Linked DNA regions of Homo sapiens: region 1 is linked to region 2. The links are contacts of gene promoters, found by promoter capture Hi-C in human tissues and cell types (Jung and others, 2019). All regions are on one chromosome and are shown on one strand. The core of a region is centred on a gene start or on the middle of the fragment in contact, and the rest is flanking DNA. Distances in the headings are between cores, read along the strand shown. Region 1 has its middle 45 kb from the start of ADCY9. Region 2 holds the start of SRL (sarcalumenin).

What was found. The method cuts DNA at HindIII sites, captures the fragments that hold promoters and counts their contacts. A contact is called where the count stands out against the background at its distance.
Region 1: a fragment that was not itself captured here is called in contact with the fragment with the promoter of SRL in region 2 in 2 of the 25 tissues and cell types used here (aorta and pancreas).

Annotation. Positions count from the first base shown.
Region 1 is chr16:4,158,845-4,163,166 of GRCh38, forward strand. No RefSeq gene overlaps it. Among named protein-coding and RNA genes, the nearest start is that of ADCY9, 45 kb to the left of the region's middle. The HindIII fragment of the contact is 4,692 bases long and covers 1-3,824 here.
Region 2 is chr16:4,239,598-4,243,598 of GRCh38, forward strand. It overlaps SRL (sarcalumenin), which reads right to left and starts at 2,483. Exons shown (of 6, transcript NM_001098814.2): 1 at 2,410-2,483. The coding sequence starts at 2,470. The HindIII fragment of the contact is 19,223 bases long and covers 1-4,001 here.

The sequences.
Region 1 (4,322 bases), core at 229-2,728, 82 kb before region 2:
AAGAGGAAGGAAGGAAGGAAGGAAGGAGAAAGAAAAAGAAAGAAAAGGAAAGAAAGAGAAAGAAAGAAAGTGAAAGAAAAGAAAGAAAGAAAGAGGAAAGAAAGAAAGAAAGAAAAAGAAAAGGAGAGAAAAAGAAGGTGGAGTTGGGCCAGGCGCAGTGGCTCACATCTGTAATCCCAGCACTCTGGGAGGCCGAGGTGGGTGGATCACTTGAGGTCCGGAGTTCAAGACCAGCCTGGCCAAGGTGGTTAAACCCCACCTCTACTAAAAATACAAAAATTAGCCAGGCGTCATGGCATGGGCCTGTAGTCCCAGCTACTCAGGAGGCTGAGGCAGGAGAATCGCTTGAACCCGGGAGGCAGAGGTAGCACCACTGCACTCCAGCCAGGGCGACAGAGCGAGACAGCATCTCAAAAAAAACAGAAGAAGAAGAAGAAGGAGGAGGAGGAGGAGGAGGAGGAGAAGGAGAAGGAGAAGAAGAAGTTGGAGAGGAGAGGGGATGGAGTATCTCCCCTTTGCACAAGGACTGAGTTACAGGCCAGACTTTCCAAGACTATGTAGAGCTCTCTAGGACTCCTGACTTCAGAGAATAAGATCAGGGCTGTGGCAGAGGAACAGTCTAAGAGGCCGAGGGGACAGAATCGCCCACCTTGTAGCCCAGGGATCGAACCCCTTTAAACCACTGACCTTGTCCCTATGCAGATCTGGGCCAAGGACTGTGTGTAGGCAGAGGAGGCCCGTAGTTCAGACCAAGGGGAAGATTTTGCAAACTTGTTCTTAACTGTCACTACTTATGTGCAAGGATTCTGAAGCTTGACAAGCAGCATTGTTTCCTCCCTGAGCAATCAGAAATCAATAAAAGCAGAACTCTCTGTACTTAGGAGATCTGCGTTGGTGTGGGCCGACACGCAGCAGAACATGGCGGAGCGGGTGGGCAAAGTGATGGAGAGCCCTAGCCACGTTCCAGATGGTGCAGGAAGGGTGTTGCAGCTGAGCACAAACAGGGGAGAAAGCTGCTCCAACAAAAACCGCCGGAGCCACATGTGGGGAAAGTCAGACATTTGCGGTGCACGTGGACGGAGGCCCTCTGGAGAGGGCTGCGGTTGGTATCCGTCATCCCCGCTCCTCATCAGCAGCTGATGCTCTGGCGACAGAGGCTGTTGGCTGGGCTAGATTGGACGCGTGGAGCTTAAATGAAGCTGCCCAGGCAAGGGAGCTAGAAGCTCTGGCTCTGCTGCTAATTGGCCATGAACCTAGGGCCAGTTATTTCTTGTCTCTGGATTCATTTCCTCATTTTGTTTTTTGGGGTGTTTGTTGGTTTTGAGATGGACTCTCACTCTGTTGCCCAGGCTGGAGTTCAGTGGCGTGATCTTGGCTCACTGCAACCTCTGCCTCCTGGCTTCAAGTGATTCTCATGCCTCAGCCTCCCGAGTAGCTGGGACTACGGGCATGTGCCACCACACCCAGCTGATTTTTGTATTTGTAGTACAAATGGGGTTTCACCATGTTGACCAGGATGGTCTTGATCTCTTGACCTCGTGATCTGCCCACCTTGGCTTCCCAAAGTGCTGGGATTACAGGTGTGATCTACTGTGCCCGGCCTAATTTTTGTATTTTTAGTAGAGACAGGGTTTCTCCACGTTGGCCAGGCTGGTCTTGAACTCCTGACCTCAGGTGATCCACTGGCCTCAGCCTCTCAAACTGCTGGGATTACAGGCATGAGCCATGGCACCCAGCCATTTCCTCATTTTGAAAAGGACAGAGAGGAGGTGTGAAGGGGCGATGTTCTCTTCGGTAACACCTGAGGTCTCTGGTGGTATCACTGTTGGAAAGGGGCCTTGACACCCTCCACCCCAAACTCTACTAAAATGTGCTTCTAGCAACTCTAAACTTAAATCATTTGTGATCTTTCCTCTAGCTTTATTAGTCACTGATCTTTCTCACTGGGCCAGGAAATAAGCTTGCAAGGGGGCACTCCTCCAGATTTCCCAAGGAGAGTACCTCTCGGTTGTAAATTCACCAAAAATGTGGAACATCCCCTCCTACTGGGTAAAGTTGGCCAATGAAGTGGCAACCTTTGCTACCATCACTGCTACTGTTTTAGGTCTATTTTCCAAGAAAAAGCATATTAAACCAGTTTTATTGAGACATTACAGAACATAAAATTCACCCATTTAAAGTGTACAATTCAATGGTTTTTAGTATGTTCCTAGAATTGTATAGCCATCACCATCACCATCTAATTCACTACATTTTACTATTTCCAGAAAGAGGCCCTGCCCATTACTAGTCACTCTCATTTTGCCCCAGCCCTAGGCAACCACCAATCTACTTCCTCTCTCTAGAGATGTAAAACATAGCATTTTGCCCCGTTAGGGACATTTCCTACAACTACGTATAGCATCATCATATAGCACTGACTAATCAAGAACTCATGACCCATATATAAATAGCCAACAAAAACATGAAAATGTGCTCAACATCACCGATCATTAGGGAAATGCAAATCGAAAACTACAATGAGATACCATCTTGCATCCATCCGGGTGGCTACTGTCAAAAAAAACAGAAAATAACGAGTGTTGGCCAGGATGTGGAGAAATCGGAACCCTTGTACATTGTTGGTGGAAATGTAAAATAGTGCAGCTGCTGTGAAAAAAAGCATGGTGGTTCCTCGAAAAACTAATAATGGAACTATTTATCAGCGATTCCACTTCCGGGTATATACCCAAAAGAATGGAAAGCAGGGCCTCTAGGAGGTATCTGTATACCCTGTCCCTAGCATTATTCTCAATAGCCAACTGTCCATCAACCCAACTGTCCATCCACAGATGAATGAATAAACAAAATGTGGTCTATACATACAAAAAAAATTCTTTTATTTTTTATTTTTTTGGCCAACATGGTAAAACCCCATCTCTACTAAAAAGTAAAGAATTTTTTTTTTTTTTTTTTTTTTGAGGCAGAGTCTCGCTCTGTCGCCCTGGCTAGAGTGCAGTGGCACGATCTCGGCTCACTGCAACCTCTACCTCCCAGGTTCAAGGAATTCTCCCACCTCGGCCTCCTGAGTAGCTGGATCACAGGCATCTGCCACCACGCCTGGCTAATTTTTATACTTTTAGTAGAGACGGGGTTTCACCATGTTGGCCAAGCTGGTCTCAAACTCCTGAACTCAAGTGATCCGCCCACCTCAGCCTCCTAAACTGCTGGGATTACAGGCGTGAGCCACCACGCCTGGCCAAAAAGTAAAGAAATTCTGTGGCCAGGCGTGGGGGCTCATGCCTGCAATCCCAGCACTTTGGGAGGCCAAGGCAGGCGGATCACTTGAGCTTAGGAGTTCAAGACCAGCATCCTGGGCAACAAAGTGAGACCTTGTCTCTAGAAAAAATACAAAAATTAACTGGGCACGGTGGTGCACACCTGTAGTCCCAGCTACTCAAGAGGCTGAGGTAGGAGGATGGCTTGAGCCTGAGGGACAGAGGTTCCAGTGAGCCAAGATCACACCACTGCACTCCATCCTGGGCGAAAGAGCCAGACCCTGTCTCAAAAAATAACCAAAAAAGAAACAAACAGGCTGGGCACCGTAGCTCACGCCTGTAATCCCAGCACTTTGGGAGGCCGAGGCGGGTGGATTACCCGAGGTCAGGAGTTTGAGACCAGCCTGATCAACATGGTGAAACCCTGTCTCTCCTAAAAATACAAAAATTAGCCGGGCGTGGTGGCGCATGCCGGTAGTCCCAGCTATTCGGGAGGCTGAGGCAGAAGAATCGCTTGAACCCAGGGGGCAGAGGTTGCAGTGAGCCGAGATTGCGCCATTGCACTCCAGCCAGGACACTAAGAGCAAAACTCCGTCTCAAAACAAACAAACAAACAAAAAGCAAGGAAATTCTAGCTGGGTATGGTGGTGCACACCTGTAGTCCCAGCTACTGGGATGGCTGAGGTAGGAGAATAGCTTAAGGCCAGGAGTTCAAGGCCAGCCTGGGCAACACAACACATGCTACAACGTGCATGAACCTTGAGGACATTATCTTAAATGAAATAAGACAATGCTGTATGATTCCATTTGTATGACTCTAGTTACCTAGAAGAGTCAGATTCCTAGAGACTGAAAGTAGGATGGTGATTGCCAAAGAGGAGGATGGGGAGTTATTGTTAATTTTATTTTATTTTTGAGACAGGGTCTCACTTTATCACCCAGGCTGGAGTGAAGTGGTACAATCACATCTCATTGCAGCCTCAGCCTCCTGGGTCCAAGCGATCCTCCCACCTCAGCCTCCCAAGTAGCTCAGACTATAGGCATGTGCCACCACACTTGGCTAAT
Region 2 (4,001 bases), core at 1,233-3,732:
TATCCACTGCACCCTTTCTCCTCCTTTCACACTCACCGTACAGGGAGAGAGGGGCTTGGGAGTGCAGGCAGGGTCTGTCACAGAGAGACGGGCTGAGGAAAGGAGAGGACCCTGGCCCGGGTGTGCCTGTCACTGACGCGCTGTCTGACCTCGGAAAAGTTTTCCTGTTTCTCTGGGTTTCCTTCCCTTCCCTGGATGGTGGGGAGACCGATCAAATCATTGCTAGGGGCGTTTCCCACTGCTTTAAGGAGGAACAGCCCCAAGCCAGGACTCCCAAAGAGGAGGGCCCAGTGGGTGGTACAAAGGCCTGAGTGCAGCAGCAGGTCGGGAGGTGGAAACCGGGTAAGGCCCCACCTGGCTGCTCCTTCCCCGTCCTGGCATGGGCACGGGCGACGGGTGGTTGGTAACAGAGGGGCGCTTGTCTCCTCACAGGGAGGCGAGAAGGAGGGCTGCAGAGCCCACCACCCCAGCCAGAGCTGCACACGAGCAACAAGGAGGAGAAGCCGGAGGAGAAGCTCTGTGGGGTCCCTGGCCTAGGAAGCAGATGGGAGTGGTGAGCGAGAATATCTGCCGCCACCCAGCCAAGGAGCAAGCATGATAGGGAGGGAAGTTAGCACACAGCGGAGAGATGAGGGAAAGAGGTCAGGAGCCAAGATGTGACCTTTGGGTGGGGTGGTATTTACCGGGGTGGCACAATTCTGAAGGGGAAATCACCCAGTAGGAAGGACTGTCATGATGGGGGCGTGAGGAAGCCACCTTGTGGGTTAGAACCTGCCGGTGGATGCAGGAGGAGGCCTATTCTGGGGTATACAGTCCACAGTGGGGCAGAGTCCTGATAAAATCCACCACAGTGGATGAAACCCACAGCCCAAGTGCTGAGCAGGAGCAGGGACAGAGGGAAGCTTTACGCCGGAGGTTGGGCCAGGGGCAGACGCACGCTGTGGGACCCAGGAAGGAAAGACAGCAGAGAGAAGGGACCTTTGCACAAGCACCTGCCTGCGTCCTTTCCCCACGACAAGAGCCCCCAGCGAGGCCTGCAGAACATTCCAGATGACCAGTTCCCTCGGTGGGAGGAAAGATAAAGGATGTCCCTAAAAGGCCAAAAATTCCTGGGGCCCAGTGTGTAGCAGCCCAGCAGCTGGGGCTGGGGGGCAGCACAGGAGCGGCCACGAAGGGAGAGGGTGGCAGCGGCTTGGGGCTCCGGATCCAATTACGCGGCTGTTTCCATACTTAGCCGCCTGACAGCCGCCTGGAATACTCAGCACTCAAGCCGCTGCAGCCCTGCAGAGCCCAAATTAACTCAAGGACAGACAAGGGCAGGGCCCAGCAGCACATGCAGTGGCTGGAGCCCCCCACCTTACATCTTGAGTCCCCGAGAAATAGCTTTTGTTCCCACCCACTGCCTGCTCTCCCTGCAGGGACTGTGCCCCTGCAACCCCCTATTCAACCTCAAAGACCTGAGAGGCTGGACTCTGGGCCTCTCCAGTCCCAGGTACGGACCTAGGCTCAGAGCCCAGCTTGGGGGAAGACTGCCGAGTCATGAAAAGACTCGGTGGGCAGTCCGGATCCTAGGGGGATCCCCGGAGCACCTCCCTAAAAGCATTCCCTCGGGGAACCTGGCCTCAGGAACCTTAGGAACAAGAGAGGTGGCAAAACAATCTGGCATCTCCTCCATAGCCTATAGATAACCCCCATGCTGCAACCCAAGCCACCACCTCTGCTACCCAAAGTGCTGAGATGTCAAAGGGAAGCCTCAGCACACAGAGCCAAGCCCCTTTTCTGATGGAAGCCCCCACCCCGAGCAGAGGCTCTACTCCAGAACGGGCCCCGTTCCTCTTCTGAATTGCATCCAATGCTGTTTCCAGCCCAACCGCCAACTCTATTTCCGATCTTATCCCAAACCAATTCCAATTCTATCTCACTGCTCCCAAAACGGTCCCCACCTTTGCCCACTGTATCCCCTTCTGTCCACGCAAACCCAGTTCTCTTACCCGAGTGGGGCCTCCGCCTTATATCCCACCAGGTGGGAGGGTCACCTCAACGACCTCCAGCTCCCAGACTGTGCTATTTTGTCCGTCTCAGAGGCTCCCCCGTCTCGACTTTGAGGGCCCTCTTTCCCACATCTACTGGCCAGACTCCTCTCTGACCCTGGCTCACAGCTCAGCTCTGTTTGCCGTTCCCACTTCCTCTGGCCTTCCTGAGGGCCCCGCAACTGTGCTGCTATTCTCCAGCACCCAGCTCTTTCTCTGAGGCCCCAGGCCCGGGGAAAAGAGAAGGGTAAGAAGACACCAGCCAAGAGCCAGGGTTTGCCATCAGCCCCGACCCCCTACCCAACCCATGGTAGACAGAAAACCTTGGAGGAAGCGTGGGGGACCAGTCTGGGCTGGGTCATGCTGGGAGGGGCCCTACCTGCTTGTCCTGAGAACAGGAGCGAGGCCAGGAGGCAGCCGAGCAGGACCAGCGCCCTCATGGTGACTGCCAAGAGAGCCCAGCTGCTCCTCGCCTCTATTTATACGGCCGGCCGTGGCAGCAGGCGGTGGAGGGGGGAGAGGGGTCACACAGTCACCAGGGCAACTAGGAGGGTGTGATGGGGAAGAAGCCCGGACCCCAGAAGGCTGTGCAGAGGCTCAGGCTGCGCCACTGCTGTCCCAGCTGCCAGGCCCCAGAAGGCAGGGCCGTGGCTGGATTCTCTTCCCCCGAACCCCTGCAGCCCTGGGATCACATGACATGGGTCACAGGGCGTGGGTGACAGGCATAAAATGGAGCATCCCTTGGGCTCAGGCGGTGGAGCTGGGAAGCTGAGTCTTCCCAGAACTTGCAATAACTTGACCTGAAGTCTCGGCAGGTTAAGGACCTTGACACGCCTGCACTGGAAGGAGGAAGTTGTAAGGCCACGCAAAAGAAATCCTATTTAACAGCCACTGATCCACATGCTAGAGAGTGGTCAGCTACGGCAAACCCGCAACATGTGACCTCTGAGGTCCAAGGCTGCAGCCCTGGAACAACCTTCCCAGCCTCTGGAAGAGAGAGAGCACAGACCAGAGGGAGAGGGGCACACTGAGACACAAGCTGAGGCTACGGTGTAAACTGGAGGATGGAGCAACAGATATCCATTTCCAATGGCCCAGGGGTTCCAGAACATTCAGTCACCTCTGCAAAGTGCTTTTTTGTTTATTTGTTTTTGATAGAGGATCTCGCTCTGTCACCCAGGCTGGACTGCAGTGGCACAATCATCACTCACTGCACTCGACCTCCCAGGCTCAATCAATCCTCCCAACTCAGCCTCCCAAGTAGCTAGGACAGTAGTGCCACCATGCTGTACTAATTTTTTAAAATTTTTTGTAGATGGCCCAGAGAGCCAGTTGTAAGAAGCCAAGGGAAAGCAGACACTTGCTTGTCTGGTCGGGGTACAGTGTCACTGTGTGGGGAAGAGGTAGAAGCCAGCCTTGGAGGAAAGGAACTAAATCAGGGCCAGGCACAGTGGCTCACACCTGTAATCCCAGCACTTTGGGAGGCCGAGGCGGGTGGATCACCTGAGGTCAGGAGATTGAGACCAGCCTGGCCAACATGGTGAAACCCCATCTCCACTAAAAATACAAAAATTACTGGGTGTGGTGGCGGGTGCCTATAATCCCAGCTCCTCAGGAGGCTGAGGCAGGAGAATCACTTGATCCCAGGAGGCGAAGGTTGCCATGAGCCAAGATTGCACCACTGACTCTAGCCTGGGCAACAGAGCGAGACTCTGTCTCAAAAAAAAAAAAAAAAAAAAAAAGAATTAGGCATCTGGTAGGCACTTGACTTTTTTTTTTTTTTTAATCTTTTTTAAGAGACAGGGTCTCTGTCACCCTGGCTGGAGTAGTGACACGATCATAGCTCACTGCAGCCTTGAACTCCTGGGCTCAAGCCACCCTCTCACCTCAACCTCCGAGGGGCTGGGAATACAGGTGTGCACCACATCTGGCTAATTTTTTTGTTTTTTGCAAACATGGTCTTCCTATGTC